Regions from separate parts of the Homo sapiens genome. Here regions 1, 3, 4, 5, 6 and 7 are each linked to region 2. The links are contacts of gene promoters, found by promoter capture Hi-C in blood cells and fetal thymus (Javierre and others, 2016). All regions are on one chromosome and are shown on one strand. Each heading gives the region's core, a stretch centred on a gene start or on the middle of the fragment in contact. The rest is flanking DNA. Distances are from core to core; before and after follow the strand shown. Region 1 overlaps TENT2 (terminal nucleotidyltransferase 2). Region 2 holds the start of THBS4-AS1 (THBS4 antisense RNA 1). Region 3 has its middle 4.1 kb from the start of ZFYVE16. Region 4 overlaps ZFYVE16 (zinc finger FYVE-type containing 16). Region 5 holds the start of CMYA5 (cardiomyopathy associated 5). Region 6 holds the start of FAM151B (family with sequence similarity 151 member B). Region 7 has its middle 24 kb from the start of SPZ1.

Region 1 (2,997 bases), core at 478-2,977, 410 kb after region 2:
GACTCTAGGCTTATATATCCAACTGTCTACTCAGTATCTCCACTTGAATATCTTGAAGTTATCCCAATCTTAAAATGATAAACAAATTCAGTAAAGCTGCAATCAAACCAGCATGGGACTGGCATAAAAACAGACACATAGACCAATGGAACAGAATAAAGAATGCCAAAATAAATCCATACATCTACAGTGAACTCATTTTCAAAAAAGGTGCCAAGACATACACTAGGGAAAGCACAGTCTCTTCAATAAATAGTGCTGGGAATACTAGATATCCATATGCGAAAGAATGAAACTAGAACCCTATCTCTTGACATATACAAAAAACAAACCAAAATTGATTGAAGAATTCAATCTAAGACCTCAAATTATGAAACCACCACAAGAAAACATTGGAGAAACTCTCCAGGACATTGGTATGGGCAAAGGTTTCTTAAGTAATACTCCACAAGCACAGGCAACCAAAGCAAATGGACAATGGGATCACATCAAGTTAAAAAGCTTCTGCATAGCAAAGGAAACAATCAACAAAGTGAGGAGACAAACCCATAGAATGAGAGAAAATATTTGCAAACTACTCATCTCACAAAGGATTAATAGGCAGAATATATAAGGAGCTTAAACAACTCTATAGGAAAAAATCTAATAATCCAATTAAAACACGGACAGAAGATCTCAACAGACATTTCTCAAAAGAAGGCATACAAAGAGCAACGAGGTATATGCAAAGCTGCTCAACATCACTAATCATCAGACTTAGGCAAATCAAAACTGCAATGAGGTATCATCTCACCCCACTTAAAATGGCTTTTATCCAAAAGACAGGCAACAATGAATGCTGGCAAGGAAACCCTCATACCCTGCTGGTGGGAATGTAAATTAGTACAACCATTATGAAGAACAGTTTGGAGGTTTCCCCAAAACTAAAAGTAGAACTACCATATGATCCAGCAATCCCACTCCTAGGCATATACCCAAATGAAAGAAAATCAGGATACTGAAGACATATCTGCACTCTCATGTTTTTGTAACACTATTCCCAATAGCCAAAATTTAGAAGGAACTTAAGTGTCCATCAACAGAGGAATGGATAAATAATAGGTGGTACTTATCCACAATAGAGTACTATTGAGCCATACAAAAGAATGAGATCCTCTCATTTGCAACATCATGGATGGAATTGGAGGACATTAAGTGAAATAAGCCAGACACACAAAGACAAACTTCACATGTTCTCAGTTATCTGTGGGATCTAAAAATTAAAACAATTGAACTCATGGAGATAAGAGACTAGAATGATGGTTACCAGAGGCTGGGAAGGGCAGTGGCAGGGAGAGGCGGAAGTGGGGATTGTTAATGAGTACAAGAAAATAGAACGAATAAGATATATATTTGATAACACAACTGGGTGACTATAGTCAATAATAATTTAATTGTACATTTAAAAATAACTAAAACAGGATAACTGGATTGTTTGTAATGCAAACGATAAATGCTTGAGGTGATGGATACCCCATTTACCCTGATGTGATTATTATGCACTGTATGCCTATATCAAAATATCTCACATACCCTATAAATATACAAACCTATTATGTACCCACAAAAAGTAACAAAACAGAAGTATTTCAGCAGCAAGGTGTGAGTGAAGTAGGTAAGAAAAATAGTTTTTTGTTTTTTTTTTTGAGACAGGGTCTCACTCTATTGTCCAGGCTGGAGTGCAGTGGAGCAATCTCAGCTCACTGCAACCCCCACCTCCCTGGTTCAAGCAATTCCTGTGCCTCAGCCTCCCAAGTAGCTGGGTTTACAGGCATGTGCCACCACACCTGGCTAATTTTTGTATTTTTAGTAGAAAGGGGGTTTTGCCATGTTGCCCAGGCTGGTCTCAAACTTCTGGGCTCAAGTGATCTCCCCTCCATGGCCTCTCAAAGTGCTGGGATTACAGACATGAGCCACCACACCCGGCCGAAAATAGTAATTTTTAAATGACCATATAAAACTTCTGCAACATTTATACCATATACTCAAGCATCCCTTAACAGTCACTTAATGTTTTGTCTTTCAGAAAAAAGAACTTTTGGCTAGGCGCGGTGGCTCACACCTGTAATCCTAGCACTTTTGGAGGCCGAGATGGGTGGATCATTTGAGGTCAGGAGTTCAAGACCAACCTGGCCAATATGGTGAAACCCCATCTCTACTAAAAATACAAAAAAATATTAGCCAGGCATGGTGGCACGCACCTGGAATCCCAGCTACTCAGGAGGCTGAGGCAGGAGAATTGCTTGAACCCATGAGGCGGAGGTTGCAGTGAGCTAAGATCGCACCACTGCACTCCAGCCTGGGCAACAGAGCAAGGTTCTGTTTCAAAAAAAAAAAAAGAAAAAGAAAAAAGAACTTTTTAAATGATTACCTCAAAGTTCAGAAGAAATCCTTATAGACATTTTTAACAATTGCCATAATTCTTTTATACAGCTTCTAGTTTATTACCATGACTACATTCTTGGCTGTGATCCCCACATTTCAAATTTCTGAAAATATCTCATATGAAATGACAAATGTACTAGATGGTGAAGTTCTGAAACCTCTTTCCAAGCATCAGTATCATCTGACCCAGCAGACTAGTTTCCTTTAATATTAAATTAACATACAAACCTACACATCCACTATCTTGTTTCTGTTCAACAAAGCAGGTGATTTTCAAGGTATTTGTATACAGATGCTCTAATCCTACACTATACATGGGAAAAAAGTTATCTTTGTTCTGTGAATCCTTTTCCCCCTCCACAAACATCCCCCAGTCCCTAATTTATATAACATAATAAACAATGTCAATACAGTCTAACAATTAAGAATGTAGTTTTGGAGTCCAGCTTGAAAGTGAATCCCAACTCTCCCACAATCTAGCTGTAGATTGCCATGGGCAAGTTTCATGTACACAAATTCCCTAAGCTTGACAGAGGTTATTATGAGGATTAACTGAAATCCATGGGAATCACT
Region 2 (3,250 bases), core at 400-2,899:
GTGCTTCAGCCACCTGAGGAGCTGGGAGTATAGGCAGGAGCCACTGCACCTGGCCTAATTTTTGTATTTTTAGTAGAGATGGGGTTTTACCATGTTGGCCAGACTGGTCCCAAACTCCTGACCTCAAGCGATCCTCCCACCTAGGCCTCCCAAAGTGCTAGGATTACAGGTGTGAGCCATAGCACCCCACCCATTTTCACTTTTCTTACTTCATTTCTTATGCAAGAAATTTTCTGAAAGCCTCAAGTTTTCTACATCAGCTTCAAAAATATAAGGAGGGCCAACTAGGAATAGGACAAGGTAGAATAATCACTTGTGTGCTGATAAATATTTAACAACCAGTTCTCTGGAGCCCTGATTTGTAGTGTTTGCCAGTTTCTGTGTAAATACTCCCACCATGGCCAATTTCAAACTACCAACCGTTTAACTGGCTCACAATATTCCTAAAACTTGAATAGTTGGCTCTTATGAGCTGGTAGGAGTTGGCTTCAGCACACTGCTGGTTCTACATGCGTCTTTGTTTCTTGTTTTGCATAAATAACAAGTTTTGTCTTCCCAAAAATGTAATAAGCTCCCTAAGGGATGGAATTATGTTCTGGATCTCCTGTGGGCCCATGGTTTCTAAAATAGTTATAGACACAAAAGATTTAACCAAGAGAGTCTGTTTCCTGTGGACATACTGCGTTCTTGGGCTTGCACAGCCGACAACAGGGAGGCTGCCCCAGGGGTGGGCATGGTGTGGGTTGCTGCCTCCTTTCACCAGCCTCACTCTCATTGCCCAGGCTGGAGTACAGTGGTGCAATCTCTGCTCACTGCAGCCTCTGCCTCCCCAGCTCAAGTGATTCTCCCACTTCAACCTCCCAAATAGCTGGGACTATAGGCAAGTGGCACCACACCTGGCTAATTTTTGTATTTTTAGTAGAGATGGGTTTCGCCACGTTGGCCAGGCTGGTCTTGAACTCCTGGCCTCAAGTGATCTGCCTGCCTTGGCCTCCCAAAGTGCTTGGGACCACAGGCAAGTGCCACCACACCTGGCCCCATTGGAGTTTTTGATGTAGGAGATCAGATGTCCTGGATTACAAGGCCACACACATCTCCAGGCTGTACATGAGAGGAGGATGTCCAGAAATCCTCCAGATCTCATGCATGCACCATTGTATTTTCTCACTGTTAAAGTCATGATAAAACTGTGGTGTTTTTTTCTTCATACATGATTTAATATATCTCTAGGAATTCTGGAATAAGAAAATATATAACCGCACAGCAATATTCTTTGAAACAAAATTTCTAGAGAATTTATAAAAATTTGCTTGGATCTTGATTTACAATTGAAATACAAGAAAGGCTAGTGTACAAATTAGGCAAGTTTCTGTGCTGTACATCCAGCTACTGGTACCACAAATAGAGGATATGTTGTGACTTTTTGAGTTGAGGAGGACTTTTATGATCATGTACACTCTACTGTCCTTTAAGAGGCATTCATTCATTCATTCTTCGTTTATTAATTCAGTAAACATTTACTGGCTATTTACTACATTCCAGGTACTGTGGGGATATTGATTGTAATGACATGATCCTTTATTGTCAATATGCTTACAGTCCACTAGGGGGAGCCAAATATATAAATAAGCTTAAGAATTACGTTGAAGGGGCCAGAATAGAAGTCTGTGGAAGGTGTGGGATGGGATGACAGCATCAGAAAGAATTGGGCAAATCTGTCCCAGGACTAGGTCAGAAAAACGCCTCCCTAGGGAAGGTGCCACCCCAAACACGTGTTTCTGAGACCCCTTACCCGAAATAAGGAGGCTGCCAAGGTGAGCATGGAACGGTTAGGCGTTTTGTATGGAGCAAACTGGGGGGACCCCAGCTGAGACCTCTGGCCTGGGCCTTGTGATTCACGCATAGGCTCATCTTATCGGCCACCGGGTCTGAGAAGAAACTACCACCCTGCAAGTTAACAGGGATCCCTCCGAGAACGGGCACCTCAAAGCCTGAGCCACGTGAGAGCAATGTCTGAGCAACACGGTTTTTAAAAATGATCTCTTCTCCTTTATTGCCACATTCACATAAAACGTTTTGATATATTTGGGTTGGTAAAAGCTAAAGAAAATTGAAGTTAAAATATATATGGTTTTAGTGTTCCGAAAAGCAGTTACAGATTGCTTCCTTGGTTTAATTATCGAAGCGGTCGAAATTCTGGGTTTGAAACTCTTGGAAGTCCTCAGGGATGGTGTCTGCAATAGGAATGGGCACAGGGAGGTTAGCGAGGCTCCTTCCACCCCGGACCCCGGACCCCCGCCCGCGGCTCAGGCGTCCTGTAGGGGGCGCTGTTAGCCCGCCCAGGACGCCCCGCAGGCCCTCGCCGCCATTTTCTCCTGCAGGCTGCTTTGCAAACCGTTGGCTTAAAGCCCAGGAGTGCTCCTTCCCGGCCGTGCAGAAAATCAGCAGGCAGAATGGATTTTGCATCTGTGATTATGTTTTAACCACATGAAAATAAAGGCTTCCTGTAAATTAAATCTGACTGGATTTCTCACTGAACCCCAAACCCTAAACCATGCAGTTAAATTCTATGGGTCTTAATTTCCACATGGATAAAATAGGATAAATGTGATCTGCTTTTTACTTCTGGTACACAGGGACTATCAGGTTTTAATGACTATGTGGTATGAGCGTTGGGCTTTTGGGGGGGAAGTGCGGTATAAAAATAAGGTGGCAGTGTTTGACTAATTCTAGTAACAATGTTGAACAGTAACGAGAATGCACATTACCATTGCAGCGATACTTGAGGTTGGACCAGATGATGTTTTCTTGAGAGAAGCAGAAAACGCCAAGTCGGCCTCCACGCATTGTGGTGTCTATGGTGACGCCAGAGTCAGCCACCAACTCAGAGCCTTCATAAAATCGTACCCTGCGGACAACACGGCCGGAGGGGCCTCCATGAAATCCAACCCGGGGTAAAGTGCCCACTGTGAGGCCCAGGGGCCCCACTTCTTATACGTACCTGCGTCTTTCTTTGCTCTGTTTTAGGCTCCATTTTTCGCTGACCTGGATTGTACTGTAGCTGTTGCCACTTACTTACTAGACTGGAAGTCCTTGAGGGCAGGGACCGTGTGTGTCCGTGTGTGTGTGGAGGGGGGTGGGGGGTGTTTCTTCCCAACTTCTGTCTCTCACAAGGCCTAACATGATGTTGGTCACACTATCAAACTTGAGTTAAAAATCAAACCAAACCAAACCTGCTATCTTGAGTGAG
Region 3 (3,224 bases), core at 410-2,909, 320 kb before region 2:
CTCATGAAAAAACATTTTAAATATTTAAAAATATTTAACATTGCCTATGTAGTATGAGGTCAGCTATAGTATACAATGTATGTAAAAGAGTGAAGAAAGTATATCAAAATGTTGATAGTAGTCATGTCTATCTGATTAGAATGTAGATGTTATTATCCTGGACAGTCTACATTTTCTACAACATCTATATATTACCTTTATATTCTGGGGAAAAAGAAAAAAACCTCTAATGTAACAAGTGTGATAAGTTGACCAGGAAACCTAAGAATCCATTTCCCCTGTCATTTCAAGTATGGTCTTTAGAGTCTGATTACCTGAATTTGAATTCTAATTCTATAACCTATTAGTTGTGTGGCCTAAATTTTCTAAGCTTGATGCTCCTGTAGTCAAATGCTAATAGAACTAATACATTGATTGAGATAATCCACATAAAGTACTTAACTGAAGCACTGACTGTAAATGATGAATAACTGTTATTCTTTTTTTTTTCTTTTTTTGACAGGATCTTACTATATCACTCAGGCTGAAATGCAGTGGTTGGATCATGGCTCACTGCAGCCCCAACTCCTGGGGCCCAAGTGATCCTCCTACCTCAGCCTCCAGAGTAGCTGGGACCACAGGCGTGCATCACCATGCCCAGATAATTTTTATTTTTATTTTTTTAAAGACAAGGTTTCACTATGTTGCCTATACTGGTCTCAAACTTCTGGGCCCAAGCAATCCTCCCAATTAGAATTCAAATTCAGGTAATCAGGTAGTCAACCTCCCAAAGTGCTGGGATTACAGACATTAGCCACTGTGCCAGCCTAACAATTGCTATTCTTGATGGTTATATTTCTTTTTATAAATTGATCAGTTACATCCATGTTGTTATATCAGTAGCCTATGAATTTGGCTAATGCAAGTATAAGTTCCCTGGAGCACAATTACTTGCAAATACATTTTAAAACTGAATTTCTTAGTCTACTAAACTGAGAATAAGATACAGGGACTTGATGACCACTCCACATGTTTGTCACTATATGAAGACTCGTTTGCTCTGTTTTTGTTTCTGTTTTTGTTTTTTAAGGAGAATTAATAAGTTTGTTCATATAAAATTTGTAGCCTTTGATTACCTTTTAATGCCAAATGTCTACTAAAAATTTAATCTGCTAACAAAGCAATTGCAATACTTTTAGTAGATGTTTAGAATTATAATAACCTTTCCTAATTATGCTTTGAAAGAGTATTTAATTTGGGTTCCACAAAACTTCTGATCTATAAAGTAGTAAAAATAGATGAAATCAACCAACAAACCAAAGTTCAAATCAATGACTACTACTTTAGCCCAATAGTTCTCTGTGGAGGTGAGGGGTGATTTTGCCTCCCAGAGGACGTTTGACAATCTCTGGAGGCATTTTTGGTTGTCACCACTGAAAGAATGCTACTGATATCTAATAGATACAGGCCAGGGATGCCGCTAACTGTCTTGCAATTCACAGGAGAACCCCCAACAACAAAGAAGTTTTCAGCCTAAAATATCAACAGTGCCAAGGTTGAGAAACCCTGATTTAGCCAGTGAGTGGTTTAAAGCTAGTATATTTCTTCCAATTCCTAGTAAACAGTTCCTTTTTTTTTTTTTTTTCTGATGACCACAGCGGCACAAATGTGAGTTCAGAAATTCAGAACTGGGTTTTGAACTTCTACATAAGGCCCTATACCAATGAAAATTAAACTTTGTACCAAGTAGTACCCAAAGTTAACTAGATTAGAGATAAAAAATCTACAATGACCAGTTTTATGGAGCAGACAGCTGGTCAGTTGTACTCTGGCACAGAAAAATGCTCCATTCCTATTGTTCAGTTGCACCAGACACACGTATCATCACTTATTACTAAGAACCACTTTATAAATAGCTGTCATTTATTGATCACCTACTGTTTTCAGCCTTTATCTTATAAGTAAACCAGGTGTTCTCGCAGTATGAACATTGTTGCTCATCCATAAACAAAACCTGAAGTTCAGGATTTCTCCCTGCTGTTATAACTACTTTGTTAAGTACAGGCTGTTATAACTACTTTGTTAAGTACAGCAACACTTACTGGTCAAGGCCTTTATCAAAACAGCAAACTGAAGAACACACTCTCAACAGCCCATTCTCCTTTTGTACAAAGTGCTATAATTTAGTATTGGTTCTTGTGAGAGAGGCTTTTCAATTCTCTAAGGAAAGTTTTAGTTGTGGTGCTCAGATAATCGCTGTAGATCCTTGTATTTAATACAGCAACTGTATTTACTTAAAGTTATAAAGTCAAAAAGCTCAAATAACCAATATTTTTTCTGAGTTCTTTAGAAATATATGACAAACAATAAATTAATGACATAGCAATGATTTGTTGATAAACATAATAAATCTTATGAGCTTTCTATATCAACAGTAAAAAAGAGGAATAACTGGTGTTTAATTCAACAAACACTTATTCATTTTTTTTTTGTTGTTTTGTTTTGTTTGGTACAGGGTTTCACTCCCATTGCCTAGACTGGAGTGTAATGGCTCGATCTCGGCTCACTGCCGCCTCAACCTCTGTGGCTCAAGTGTTTCTCCTGCCTTAGTCTCCCAAATACCTGGGACTATAGGCGCATGCTACTGCACCTGGCTAACTTTTGTATTTTTTGTAGAGGCAGGATTTCGCCATGTTGCCCATGGCTGGTCTGGAACTCCTGGGCTCAAGCCATCCACCGACCTTGGCCTCCTGAAGTGCTGGGATTAGAAGAGTGAGCCACCAAGCCCAGACAGTTTATTAAACATAATTGCATTGTTTTTCCTATTGATCTTGCAGTCATTGCAAGATCTTGCAGTGCTTTTGAATTGACAAAGAAAATAGAGATAAAGTTACATGAATTTTTAGAATTAAATTGTGTTTTATTATATTAAGGTGATTTCCTTAACCATTATAATAAATGAAAGCTTATTCAATTAACCTGGTCCAACCCCTCTCTACACATATATTCAATAAGCAAAAAGAAATGGTCAGTATGGCATGAACCTTAAATTATTTTTTAAAACCAATTGTTATTTTATAATACATTGATTATATTATTTTGTTAACAGATTCAACAATTGTAGCTATGTTAGCTAGTGGTTTCATGTTATTTTGTAACATGTAGTTATGTTACTTTGTAGATTCATGTTACTTTATAACACTAAATACAAGAAATGTGGCTTAGTTTTTGGCTTTGGAACTGAG
Region 4 (3,375 bases), core at 581-3,080, 370 kb before region 2:
AAAATACAAAAATTAGCCAGGTGTGGTGGCAGGCGCCTATAATCCTGGCCACTCAGGAGGCTGAGGCAGAATTGCTGGAACTCAGGAGGTGGAGGTTCCAGTGAGCCAAGATCGCGCCACTGCACTCCAGCCTGGGCGACAGAGCGAGATTCTGTCTCAAATAAGTAAATAATAAAATAATTTAATGTTTTTATTAATAATTGATGGAGTATTGTACTGTTTTAAATGTTTGTGCCTATATTAGTGAGGGTGTAGGAAATCAAACATTCACTACTGGTGACACCACAAATCAGAACAGTTTTTATGGAGCCCTAACTTGGCATTTTTCTATTAAAATTACAAGTAAATGTATCCTATGACACACCAATTCCACTTTTGGGAATTTATCTTACAGATAGGTTCAAATGTGTACAAAACGGCATGTATACAAAACTATTCACTGTAGCATTTTTATAAACAGCCCCTAAGGATTGGTAACAAATTATGCCCATCAATAAGGGACAGTTAAATGATGTACAACATATAAAATGTAAAGTTCTGTAGAATATAAAAGCTCCTTATACACAAACATAGAATAATCTCCAAAGTGTGTTAACAACAACAAAAAAAACAAGGTATAGAATGGAGCAAATATTATGACTTGTCTATAAAAGTGGAAGAAAGAGGTAGATATGTGTGTGTGTTTCTTGAATATATATTAAAGCAAAAATGTCTCTGAAAGGATATATAAGAACTGATAACATTGGTTTGGTTGCCTGTAGGGAGAGTAAGAGGATGGCTGGGTGGTCAAGGGAGGAAAGGAGATTTTTCACTATAAATATTAATAACTTTTTAATTTTACCACATAAAAATATACCTATTCAACAAATAAATATTAAAAATTGTTAAATTTTAGTGGCAAAAATGCCAATATCATGTTAAGTGATAAAGTATAATATAAAAGTGTAAATATCCAGTATAAAATCATCTATTTAACATATACATTAATATAAGAAGGAAATACAGTAAAATGTCAATAGTGACCATATCTTGGCACTTTTCCCTTTTACCACCTTTTTTTTTTTTTTTTTTTTTAGACGTAGTCTCGCTCTGTTTCTCTGTCGCTCAGGCGGGAGTGCAGTGGCACGATCTGGGCTCACTGCAAGCTCCGCCTCCCGGGTTCACGCCATTCTCCCGCCTCAGCCTCCCAAGTAGCTGGGACTACAGGCGCCCGCCACCACACCCGGCTAATTTTTTGTATTTTTAATAGAGACGGGGTTTCACCATATTAGCCAGTATGGTCTCAATTCTTGACCTTGTGATCCGCTCACCTCAGCCTCCCAAAGTTCTGGGATTACAGGCGTGAGCCACTGTGCCTGGCCTCTTTTACTACTTTTCAAAATGTATTTTCCAAGCTTACTACAAATAAGTATATATTACTTTTATAAGCAGAGGAAAAAATTTTATTGGCAGCCAGAATGTTGGACTATTTTAAGTATGGTATCCTATAATAATATATTAATTTTATGAAATGCTTCCATTTAACTTTCAATTTGTTAGGCCTTCTACTGCAAGGGTTTGGTAATCATAGCAATCACTGAAGCCATTCAGCCAGAGCTGAGAGTAATGTCATTCATAGATGCTGTTTGTTACGTTTTATAAATCAATCTTATCCTTATCACCCTGTGCTCCACCAACTAAGAGGAGTTGGAGCAGAGGGTGAACAAATGTGAAAAGAAATACCTTATTTCAGAAAGAAATTACTCAAAGAAAGACTCTCACCCTACGGGATATACTAAACCTAAAGATGTCAAAAGGAAAACAGTCTTCCAAGTCTGTAAGCCTAAAGTAGCCCAAGAGAAAAACAAAAATTAGAAGCAATTTTAAAATCTGTTGTGTAGCTGAAATTTCAAAACATATTGTTTTATCACCAACAATTCAGCAAATAAGTAAATATACATATATTTCCCCTTTGAAAGGAATTCTATTAATTGAGGTGGTTTTGTAAATTAGCACTAGGAACCAAGATGCTCACCTTTTCTAGGATGGCCAGTGGCACTGTTGGCCTGTGTTTCATAAATTCCATCATTCTGTATACAGACTAGATGAGAATCTGCTTCTGTACTGAAACTTGCTCCAATGCTAATGACATGCTCATTGGAAGAATTTAGTACTTTCATTACCTGGAAAAAAACAAAAACAACAACATTTATTTAGAAACACTTTTAATATTATATGCCTATTCTAAGAGCCACGTTTCTGGCCAGCTTCATAATTATCAAGCTTCGGTCTGGACAGCTCCCTGGGAATGTGATGGAAACAAATGTTTTAAAATAAAAGCACTTCAGTTGAACAGTAATCACCTCAATAAAACAGTACGAAAAAAAAGAAATATGATCAAACAGATTATTTACAGTAAACAAATTCTATCATTTCAAAAACAATGTTTGTTGCCATAATACATTAGATAGTCTAATTCAAAACAAAAAATTTAATGTGACACAATTCTAAGGGAACTCTAATGTTCAATAATTGTCATTTGAATAAAACAATTATACTTACATCACTGTACTTTTTCCGTGGTATTTTTATGCAGCTTTTTCCCATTTCCATATGAATCAACAGTTGATCTATATTATGCAAGGTATACTGGTAATTTCGAAGGTCCTACATAGAATAATTGCATTACCATAAACTACTAACCATGAGTATTTTTCTATCCATTAAATCCTTCTTTAAGAAATCCTTCTCCACAGCAGTAATAAAGAATATCATTCTCAGGAAAAACTTTGTAGTATTTAGGGTAACTTTCTAGTTACAGAACTTCCAAAATAGAAAAGGTCTTCAAACTAGGCATGGATAAATAAAAGTGAGTCCACTGAAACATTTTTCTATGGTAACAGGGAAACACAAAATTACAAAAAGTATAGGTGGAAGGGAACTTTAGATATCATCTAATCCAACACTTCCTATTATAAATGAGAAAACTAAGGCCATAATTTGCTCAAAATCACAAGACTGACTGACTTTACTAATACATTTACAAAAGTTTCAACAACTTTAAGAGGTCTGTATAGAGTTCTTACATTACCTAAATATCCAAGAACTGCAGGAGAATGAATCAAAAGGCACTTAGAATCAGGTACACGTACATGAGGAGATAGTACGTTCTAAAAAGCAATTCGTCAAAAACTGAGCACTAATGTTAAAATAATTAGGATTTATTGTAAATGAATGGTCATTATACCAAATATGGCAAATTAAAGTAGGAAAATATAAATGTATAAACTTTGCTAAATACAGTTTTAAAGTAACAGTATAAAAATACCTAATAAAATAGTTCAATTACTCACAACAAGTAAGTTCATAATAGTGTGTCCTATTTCTCCAAAAAGA
Region 5 (3,068 bases), core at 145-2,644, 390 kb after region 2:
CCTCTGCTCTTCCTGTTTGTAGTCCCTGCCCACTACTTCAAGGCAGCTCCAGCCCAACACTCCCTCTTCTGCCCTTGCACAGTACCCATAGTCCTCCCTTCCACCTCTATATAGTCTCACACTCCCCATGTTAGGGAAACGTTTCCCCATAGGGGAAAAAGTTAGGGAAACTTTTTCCACAAGGTCCTTGAGGCCAGGGACTGTGCTTGCTTCCCACTTGGCAGCTGTTTGATAAACAGGTGACATACATTCAGGACTTCTTGTCTGACCATCCATCCTCCTCAATGCCCCTCTATGGGCTACTTCTTCAACATCGGCTCTGCTGGCTTTGATTAGGTAAGCTGGGCGTTCTGAGATGGTACACACCCACCTGCCACCTTCAAAGCCTTTCTACTGTTATGAACAGACTGAGGAAGAGACATCACTGACTGACACACAGTCAGGAAAAAACCCAAAACTCATACTCAAGGAAAACAAGTGAAGGTAGAAGCTAATCCAAATAGACATTAGATGATTTCTATTATTCTCATTTTAGGGCCTTCTTAAAGGGACGGAGGGTGGGAGATCGAAGGGTGGGAGGTGCATCTTTTGTACATAGTATTACTTCATCGCATTCACGGAAACTGATATTTGGGATTTGGGACCAGGACTTGAAGAACAGGGATTACTGAAACTCATGCTTCTTTTCCCCCAAAGAATTTATGGGCCTTTGTATCAAAATAAGGTCACCTTATTGCAGCCTAGCCTACTGCTAGGCCCCCGGGGAGACCGCCATTCATCGGAAGGTACCAGTGCGCCTTCACCGCCTCCACCCCACCCCCTTCTCCTCTAGCGCAGGATTTCGCGATTGTTCCTGTGCCTCGGGCCAGATGTACGTGTTCCAGCACATTTCGGCAGTTATGCAGGACCTAAGTAAATCCTCAGGAATAAACAAGAGCAGCGAGTCACAAGGAGCTGGGGGCGGGGGTAATGAACTCTGCTGCAGGCGGGCCTGTCACTCCAGCTGACAGCGAGCACCTTCACCTTCAAGTTCTTTTAAACGACAGTGCACCCAGAGAGAAAGTGCCTAGCTCGAGGCAAACGAACCCCAGAGCTTAAAAACTTAAAGCAAACAAGCAAGGGTGCTGCTAGCTGCCCTGCAGGCCCTGGGCCGAGGAGAGAGGCTCGCGCTACCTGGAGTCCGGCTCCTCCTCCGACTCCGCCGCCGTCTCGTCCTCCTCGCCCTCCGACTCCTCCTCGGTCTCCAGCTCCCGGGTCGCCTCCTCGTCCCCGTCGGAGCCGAGAAAGCTCTCGCCAGCGTGGTTGCTATCGCGGCTCGCCATCGCCTCTCCCGGGCCTGGGCCGGGGCCGGAGCCGGAGCCGCCCGCGCCGCGCCTGGTGTTCTCCCTCCGACTGCTCTGGCCCCTGCCCTCCCCAGCCCTGCCCCTGCGGGGGCGGCTCGGGTTCCCGGCGCCGGGGGCGGGCGAGCCCCGCGACTTTAAATAGAAGGCGTCAAAGTTTCGCCACCGAGCTTCTGGGGCCCGGGCTCAGCTTCTCCTCTTCCCTGAGCCCTCCCCCGCCCCCGTTTCGCCAGATCCCTGGCGGGCCTTTCGGACAACTGGAGATCACTTTAAGGGGCGCGGGCTCCGGCTGCACCAGGGGGTTCAAAGGAGGAAAGGCAACCTAGCCCCGTCTCTTATTTCCTCCAGAGTGAGTCTTTTCGGTTTTGAGCTGAGCTACTTTCTGGACCCTTTATCCCAAACAATACCCTGAGCTGGGCACTTAACTACCAGGCACTCTGCTAAGGGTCTCGCTTTCATTACCTCGATTCTGTGGTGGTACCTGTAGAAGGTTTTACTGTAGTGCTGGTTTCCCAGATGAGGAAACTGAGACTCCGAAGAGCTCCAGCAGCTCAGGCTGTCATTGCTAGTAAAATGACCCAATGAGAAACAAAGCTAGGCGTGCCCTGCTCAAAAGCCCAGTTTTGAACCAGTGTTCCGTCCCGGCTCTCTTTATATCGCAAGTCAATATACTGTGTATTTTCTTGCTCAGTGGTCCCTGTTATTGAGCCAGGAAACTTTATCTCCACTCATCTTAAACCTTGAGGAGGAGCAATTTCCCCCACGTTAGCAAAAAGCTAAGTTTTGTCTGAAACTGGCCCAAATGCCCCAAACCTTTCCCCGGATCAAGTTGTGGTTAAAACCCCTCAATGGCTTCCCACTGCTCAAAGACTGAACCCCAACACCCTCACAAAGGTAACGGTTGCCTAACAGGCCATGTTTTACCTGTCTACTCTTTTTTTTTTTTTGAGATGGAGTCTTGCTCTTGTCGCCCAGACTGGAGTGCAATGGCGCGATCTCGGTCCAGTGCAACTTCCACCTCCTGGGTTCACGCGATTCTCCTGCCTCAGCCTCCCGAGTAGCTGGGACTACAGGCGCGCACCACCATGCCCAGCTAATTTTTGTATTTTTAGTAGAGACGGGGTTTCACCATATTGGCTAGCCTAGTCTCGAACTCCTGACCTCAGGTGATCTGCCCACCTCAGCCTCCCAAAGTTCTGGAATTACAGGTGTGAGCCCCCACGCCCAGCTGGTCAGGTGTCTTTAGAAGTCAGGAGTTCCCAACATTGTCAAGTCACTCCACTGTGTCTTTATTAACACAATTCCTTCTGCCTCAAAGGTTGGTCCCATTTTTACCAGGATACCCATCATTCAAGATCACCACCTTTCACTGAAATCCCAAAGTTAAACTCAGTACCTCTCTTCCAGGTTCCCACATAATCCTATATTCAAATTATGTTTGTATCTCCTTCCCCAGCAGACTTCGTAAGTTTACTACTCTTCTTTGTCCCATCATCCCCATCTCTTACAAGCCTACACACTAGCAAAGTAGCTAGCACATAGCAGGTACATATAATGGATGCTCCCTGAAGAGAACAGAACCAGAACTGCTATGTACAAATGGAGGTAACTTTACAATAAAGATATTCATTTCATGAGAATGATTTGATGGCTAGAAGAGTTAACATTTATTTTTAATTATAGCAAGTCACAGAGTTGTTAAATATGACTGTAAGCTGGGGATTATTC
Region 6 (3,410 bases), core at 430-2,929, 400 kb before region 2:
TAATTATTTTGGATTTTTAGTAGAGACGAGGTTTCACTGTGTTAGCCAGGATGGTCTTGATCTCCTGACCTCGTGATCCGCCCACCTCGGCCTCCCAAAGTGCTGGGATTACGGGCGTGAGTCACCGCGCCCGGCCCAAAAATTTGTTTTTTAAAAAATGGCATTTGTCAGCAATTGGACATTTTTCACTTGTGCACACATTTTATTCCAAGATTTTGTAAACCTTGCATCGATTCAGAAGAGAATCTGGATTTATACAGCCTGTGAGTGAGAATGGTGTAAGTCTTGAGTGTGAGCTTTGTCCCAGATTTGTTTGGATTCTTAGGAAAACTAGGCATTAAAAGGATTTATACTGAGAAGAGCACAAGGGTTAAAAAAGGAAAACTCTGGTCTGAAAAAATGTTCTACGGAGGTTTAGCACAGATCTTAAAAAAGAGAGAGAGAAAAAAGTTCACATCCTTTGATCCAGTAATTTCAGTTACAAGAATCGTGTCCAGGATAAAAACAAACCAAAAACATAACTGAGGAAGAACAATGCAAAAATGTTCATTACAGAATGAATTCTAACAAAACAAAACAAAACAGGAAACGACTGATTAACGTTCAACATTAGGAGACTGGTTAATTACAATATAATTGTATACAATATAATTGTATAAAACACTTCAGTCATTCAAAATTATGTTTATAAAAACCTTGGTGACATGGGATAGTATAAGATGCAGGATTTTAAAAATTATGTTTACCATGACCTTAACTCTATTTTTAAGAGTCAGGGTTGTTAGAAAATACCAAAAAGTTAGTAGTGGTGCCTGTGGGTATCAGCATTTGGGGGATTTTTTTTTCCTATTTCCCTATACTAATATACTTTATAAATGTTCTATAATGGCATTTATCAGGACCTGGACATTTTTCGCTTACACACACATTTTATTCCAAGATTCTGTAAACTGTGCATCGATTCAGAAGAGAACCTGTATTTATACAGCCTGCTAGTCAGAATGGTGAAAGCGTGTATTATTTTTACAATTAGGGAAAAAAATCTAAACTGAAGAAAGAACGCGTCACTGACGTTGTCTCATGCCACTACTTAAGTTTACAGAAAAGATACTGTAACCTTCAAGAGCGGAACTGCTGTCCCGCGAGTTGAAGCACCTGATTCCAAGGGGAATCAAGCGAGCCGCACACTCTGCCAGCTTTCCAGGCAGCGCGCTCAGCAGCGGGACTATGCCGGGCCCGGCCCAGTCCGCATTCCCAAACCTCCCCCAGCTTTCAAAGAGGAACCTACTGACCCAGACCGCCCCCATACGGTCGGCTGAAATTAAGGATTAGGGAAACGTCACATTCCTTTCTTTCCAACCCAGACCTCAAAAGACACTGACCCTGCCATTCTCGACCTCCCCTAACGCCTGTCCCTTAGAGCCCACCCGGCAAACCAAGGTCCTTGCCAGGCGATCGCGGGCGCGCCCCGAGTGCAGAGCGGGCTCCAAGCCCAGCCGCCCGGTTCTGCGCGGCGCGCTCCCAGGTCCCTAGCAAGGAAGACCGCGGGAGCCCGCAAAGGGAGGGTACGGCCGGCGGAGCCTCTCAAAGCGCCCCACCTCCAGGCAGAGGCCGCGCGCTCGGCGCTTACCTGGGCCTCCAGCGGATGCTGCCATGGTGACGACGCCCGCCGTCCGCGCAGGCGCCCAGGCTGGCGCCCCTGCTAACCGGGCACTGGTGGCAGGGAAATTCGACTCCACAAACCACAGGCCTCGGCGGGGGAAGAGCCCGGCGGGCGCCAGCGAAGCGGAACCAAACGGAGCCGCGGCACGCAGGCGCAAAGGCTGGCGTTCGAGGTTCGTTTACGCGCCGCTTCGCCGTGCAGGTGGTGGCGAAGCGCTCCTCCGAAAGGTTTCGGAAGCTGGTGGTAGCTCTGAAGATAACGCTGCGTTAGGGCATACTGCGGCGGAGGATGGAACTCCGATTGAAAGCAGTTGCTGGAGTGGAGCACGAATTTCAACAGTTGGGTATATTTTCTTTTAAATGTTAGTAATATCCTAAAAGGGTGTGGAATCATTACTGATAAAAATCAGTGTTTCTGGCCGGGCACGGTGGCTCAGGCCTGTACTCCCAGCACTTTGGGAGGTCGAGGTGGGCGGATCACTTGAGGTCAGGAATTCGAGACCATCCTGGCCAACATGGTTAAAACCCGTCCTTACTGAAAATTTAAAAAATTATCCTGGCGTGGTGGCGCGCGCCTGTAATCCCAGCTACTCGGGAGGCTGAGGCACAAGAATGGCTTGAACCGGAGAGGTGGAGGTTGCAGAGAGCCGAGATCGCTCCACTGCGCTCCGGTCTGTGCGATAGAGCTAGACTGTCAAATAAATAAATAAATAAATAAATAAGTTTTTGTACAAAGTTACCGAGCTGATAACTTGAAGTTTTCTCTCCCCTTCTGTCTCTCTACCAGTGTTCACTCAGAAAACGCTCTCAGCAACTGGGTCCTCCCATCCACTGTCTTTCTAGCCCTCCTTAACTCATTACTTTTTGAAGCCAAACTAGTGATCAGAATTAACAACAAAGCTCTGCCATTTTCAGCTTCTGTGACCAAAAAACTCAATCTGCCAGTGGTAGAGTTAGGATAACTAACATCACCTGACACGTAATACAAAGGGGAGTTATTCTTGCCCAGCCTTTCAGATAAAATATTTTTCATCACTCCAAAGCAATCACTCTCCATTTACCCCCTTCCTACCCCCAGGCAACAACTCATCTACTTTCTGTCTCATGAATTTGCCTATTCTGGAATTTCATGTAAATAGAATCACAGACTGTATGTATGATCTTTGTAACTGGCTTCTTTCACTTAGCATGTTTTCAAAATTCACCCATGTTTTAGCATGTATCAGTACTTCCTTCCTTCTTATGCTGGAATAAATTCCAGTTTGTAAATACCACATTTTATGTGTGTCCATTCAACAGCTGAAGGACATTCGGGTTGTTTCTACATTTTGTCTTTTATGAATGCTGCTGCTGTGAACATTCATGGACAAGTTTTGTGTGGACGTATATGAATACATTCCTGTGTGCATATCTGTGTACATACCTAGGAGTGGAACTACTTGTTCATATAGTAACTGTTTAACTGTGTGAGGAACTGCCAGTTTTGCAAATCAGCTGTACCATCTTTCATTCCCACCAGCAATGTATGAAGATTCCAATTTCCCCACATCCTTACCAGTCAGTACTTGTTGTTATGTTTTTTAAATTATAGCCATCCTAGTAGATATGAAGTACTACCTCATTATCTTGATTTGTAGTTCCCTACTAATAATATTGAGCATATTTTCAGGTGCTATCGGTCATTTATATATTTCCTTTGGAGAAATGTCTTCTCAAATCCTGTGCTCATTTCAATTGTGAGAATTCTT
Region 7 (3,031 bases), core at 285-2,784, 260 kb before region 2:
ATCCTTCCACCTTGGACTTCCAAGGTTCTGGGATTACAGGCCACTGCAACAAGCCACTAAATATGGTTTTAAATTTCTCAATAAAGAAAAACGGAATAGAGTAGGAATACTGCTTGCTCTCTGTATAAGCATTCTCAACTACCTTGATTAGTATTTTCTCTTCCTGGAGTGTGGTGATCAGTAAATCTTAAATTTATTTCTTCAGATCAAAAGTAGACTGTAATGGGCACAAGATGTGTTTTTTCCCTGTCTACTGTTTAATCTAGTTTTTTGTTTGTTTGTTTGTTTTTTGACGAAGTCTTGCTCTGTGACCCAGGCTGGAGTGCAATTGTGCAATCTGGGCTCACTGCAACCTCCGCCTCCCGGGTTCAAGCCATTGTCCTGGCTCAGCCTCCTGAGTAGCTGGGGTTATAGGTGCCCGCCACCACACCCGGCTGATTTTGTATTTTTAGTATAGACAGGGTTTCACCAAGTTGGCCAAGCTGGTTTCAAACCCCTGACCTCAGGTGATCTGCCTGCCTCGGCCTCCCAAAATGCTGGCATTACAGGTGTGAGCCACCGCACCCTGCCAATTGTATTTTTAGTAGAGACGGGGTTTCACCATGTTGGCCAGGCTGGTCTTGAACACCTGACCTTAAGTGATCTGCCCACTTCAGCCTCCCAAGTTGTGGAGATTACAGGTGTACACACACAGACACACACACAATGACAGTTAAACAGTTAAAGAAAAGTATGCACTAAATGGAAAAAGGGACTCTTTATGTGTCTGCTTCCCCATTAAGGTCTTACAGGGTGCTTGCAGTGGTTCCAGTTTACAAAGGGACTAAGCTTATGTAGGACTTTATTCTCTCTGTGGCGTTTTCTCTCTCTTTATGACCATTTCTATCCAGTGTCCTTTTAAGGTCAAGGGCTCCTAAACAAGCTCTCTGGCCTTTGTTAGCTTGATGACAGTAAGTTTCCTCATATGCTTTTTTCCAAAATGGAATTTTCATCCTTTTAATCTGTTTTTGCAGTTTTGTTGATGGCCTATATCCCTATTGAGTTCCTTTCTGAGCTTTTCTTGTTGCCTCTATATTTGAAACTGGAGACATTGAAACATCTCTTGGAATAAGAATAACACTATTATGCCAGGTGCAGTGGTGCACGCCTGTAGTCCCAGCTACTCTGGAGGCTGAGGGAGGAGTGCCTGAGGCCAGGAGTTTAAGGCTGCAGCAAGCTATGACCGCACCTGTGAATAAACACTGCACTTCAGCCTAGGCAACATAGTGAGACCCCCATCTCTAAAAAGTACAAAACAAAAAAAGAATAACTCTATTAAATTTTGTATATATAGACTCAGTGGGCTCTGTGGCTATTCAGATCCAGAAAAAGGACTGTCTTTAGATCAACAAGTTTTGAAAGTAGAGAAAGGATATTCAGTCACTCCTAAAAACACTGGTGGTGATCACATTGTCATTTGTGTAACTTTGCCCATAAAGCTGAAAGCAAAGACCCTTCCTTTGACCATGTTAAGACAGAAAAAGAAGATGGCTATCTACAAGACTAGGAGGGAAGCCTCTGAAGAAACTAACCCTGATAACACCTTGATCTCAGGTGTCTGGCCTCCAGAATTGTGCGAAAATAAATTTCTGTTTTGTTTTTTTTGACGGAGTCTCGCTCTGTTGCCCAGGCTGGAGTACAATGGCGTGATCTCGGCTCACTGCAACCTCCGCCTCCCAGGTTCAAGCAATTCTCCCACCTCAGCCTCCTGAGTAGCTGGGATTACAGGCATCCACCACTAGGCCCAGCTAATTTTTGTATTTTCAGCAGAGGCAGGGTTTCGCCATGTTGGCCAGGCTGGTGTTGAACTCCTGACCTCAGGTGATCCACCTGCCTCGGCCTCCCAAAGTGCTGGGATTACAGGCGTTAGCCACCATGCCTGGCCAAATTTCTGTTGTTTTTTTTTTTTTAAAAAAGACAATTCCTTAACTCCCCATTCTTTCTCTTTCTCTTCTTAGGAAAGACCTCATTTACTGCCTGTATTTCCCCACCTTGACCAAAGCTGTCATCCAGTTAGGATTTCAGCCAGTTACTCCATTAAACTGCTTTTAACTGCTCTTGGTAATGTCACAATGACCTCCAACTTCTAAATTCAGTGGATATTTTCCGTTCTCATCTTATGTGGTCTCTCAGCATTTGATAAACCTGACCACTCATTCCTCCTTGAAACAGTCTCTCTCTTTGATTCACCTGGAAGCTTCTTCAAGTCTCCCTTGAACTCTTCCACTTTTATCAGATTATTTCATTTTGGAGGTCCTCAAAGCTCTCTGAATTCTCCTTTCATGATGTCACACTAGTCTAAATGATTGCGTCCACTACCATGGTTTAATGACCACTTACATGTTGATGACTCACAAAGTCATATCCTTAGGCCAGGCTCTGCTTCTGATCTCAGGATCACATATTCAGCTGGTTGCTGGACAATGTCAAGAGCTACGAATGGCCTGAGATTTTACCTTAGTTTTAAGTTAACTAATTAACCTGACACAATTTTATAAGCTCTGCCAGAAGACATGAGACTCTTGAGTCAAAAACAAACAGCGGGCCAGGCACAGTGGCTCACGCCTGTAGTCCCAGCATTTTGGGAGGCCGAGGCGGGCGGATCACCTGAGGTCAGGAGTTCGAGACCAGCCTGGCCAACATGGCGAAACCCCATCTCTACTAAAAATACAAAAATTAGCCGGGCGTGTTGGTACACGCCTGTAATCTCAGCTACTCAGGAGGCTGAGGAAGGAGAATCACTTGAACCCAGGAGGTGGAGGTTGCAGTGAGCCAAGGTCATACCACTGCACTCCAGCCTGTGTAACGGGAGCAAGACTCCCTCTTAAAAAACAACAAAAACAAAGCAAGCAAACAAAGGGCTTTGTTATTCACAGAAGAGGAAGCATGAGCCTCATGTTTGCATCTGTGCATTTACCACCAAGACTCCACAGTGGCGACAGAAAGTTGGGCTCAGGTAGATGCTGCACAGTCTGTGGGTTTGTCTCATAGC

The links. Contacts are between HindIII fragments. The CHiCAGO score rates a contact against its expected background, and 5 or more counts as called.
Region 1: a contact is called between a fragment that was not itself captured here and the fragment with the promoter of THBS4-AS1 in region 2, in 2 of 17 cell types (M1 macrophages and M0 macrophages). The highest score is 5.9, in M1 macrophages.
Region 3: a fragment that was not itself captured here is called in contact with the fragment with the promoter of THBS4-AS1 in region 2 in 2 of 17 cell types (monocytes and neutrophils); the score reaches 7.2 in monocytes.
Region 4: a contact is called between a fragment that was not itself captured here and the fragment with the promoter of THBS4-AS1 in region 2, in 1 of 17 cell types (neutrophils). The highest score is 5.5, in neutrophils.
Region 5: a contact is called between the fragment with the promoter of CMYA5 here and the fragment with the promoter of THBS4-AS1 in region 2, in 10 of 17 cell types (megakaryocytes, M1 macrophages, M0 macrophages and 7 more). The highest score is 15.1, in megakaryocytes.
Region 6: a contact is called between the fragment with the promoter of FAM151B here and the fragment with the promoter of THBS4-AS1 in region 2, in 2 of 17 cell types (neutrophils and monocytes). The highest score is 12.3, in neutrophils.
Region 7: a contact is called between a fragment that was not itself captured here and the fragment with the promoter of THBS4-AS1 in region 2, in 5 of 17 cell types (neutrophils, monocytes, M0 macrophages and 2 more). The highest score is 7.3, in neutrophils.

The regions. Positions count from the first base shown.
Region 1 is chr5:79,670,791-79,673,787 of GRCh38, reverse strand. The region is part of intron 12 of TENT2 (terminal nucleotidyltransferase 2); the gene reads right to left. Among named protein-coding and RNA genes, the nearest start is that of CMYA5, 18 kb to the left of the region's middle. RefSeq lists an enhancer at 863-1,436. The HindIII fragment of the contact is 2,448 bases long and covers 504-2,951 here.
Region 2 is chr5:80,082,064-80,085,313 of GRCh38, reverse strand. It overlaps THBS4-AS1 (THBS4 antisense RNA 1), which reads left to right and starts at 1,649. Exons shown (of 8, transcript NR_109930.1): 1 at 1,649-1,814; 2 at 2,777-2,954. THBS4 (thrombospondin 4) reads right to left here. Exons shown (of 22, transcript NM_003248.6): 21 at 2,769-2,908; 22 at 2,027-2,234. The coding sequence ends at 2,173. RefSeq lists silencers at 921-1,135, 2,251-2,340. The HindIII fragment of the contact is 5,954 bases long and covers 1,633-3,250 here.
Region 3 is chr5:80,402,346-80,405,569 of GRCh38, reverse strand. No RefSeq gene overlaps it. Among named protein-coding and RNA genes, the nearest start is that of ZFYVE16, 4.1 kb to the left of the region's middle. The HindIII fragment of the contact is 2,574 bases long and covers 373-2,946 here.
Region 4 is chr5:80,455,732-80,459,106 of GRCh38, reverse strand. ZFYVE16 (zinc finger FYVE-type containing 16) reads right to left here. Exons shown (of 19, transcript NM_001284236.3): 12 at 3,333-3,375; 13 at 2,542-2,646; 14 at 2,015-2,162. Among named protein-coding and RNA genes, the nearest start is that of FAM151B-DT, 31 kb to the left of the region's middle. The HindIII fragment of the contact is 868 bases long and covers 1,397-2,264 here.
Region 5 is chr5:79,688,162-79,691,229 of GRCh38, reverse strand. CMYA5 (cardiomyopathy associated 5) reads right to left here and starts at 1,394. Exons shown (of 13, transcript NM_153610.5): 1 at 1,174-1,394. The coding sequence starts at 1,322. TENT2 (terminal nucleotidyltransferase 2) reads right to left here. Exons shown (of 15, transcript NM_001114394.3): 15 at 2,984-3,068. RefSeq lists an enhancer at 1,383-1,884. The HindIII fragment of the contact is 6,464 bases long and covers 1-3,068 here.
Region 6 is chr5:80,486,369-80,489,778 of GRCh38, reverse strand. FAM151B (family with sequence similarity 151 member B) reads right to left here and starts at 1,679. Exons shown (of 6, transcript NM_205548.3): 1 at 1,631-1,679. The coding sequence starts at 1,655. It overlaps FAM151B-DT (FAM151B divergent transcript), which reads left to right and starts at 1,833. Exons shown (of 3, transcript NR_172938.1): 1 at 1,833-2,001. RefSeq lists a silencer at 1,115-1,409 and enhancers at 1,074-1,573, 1,574-2,075. The HindIII fragment of the contact is 15,498 bases long and covers 1-3,410 here.
Region 7 is chr5:80,342,632-80,345,662 of GRCh38, reverse strand. No RefSeq gene overlaps it. Among named protein-coding and RNA genes, the nearest start is that of SPZ1, 24 kb to the right of the region's middle. The HindIII fragment of the contact is 1,408 bases long and covers 831-2,238 here.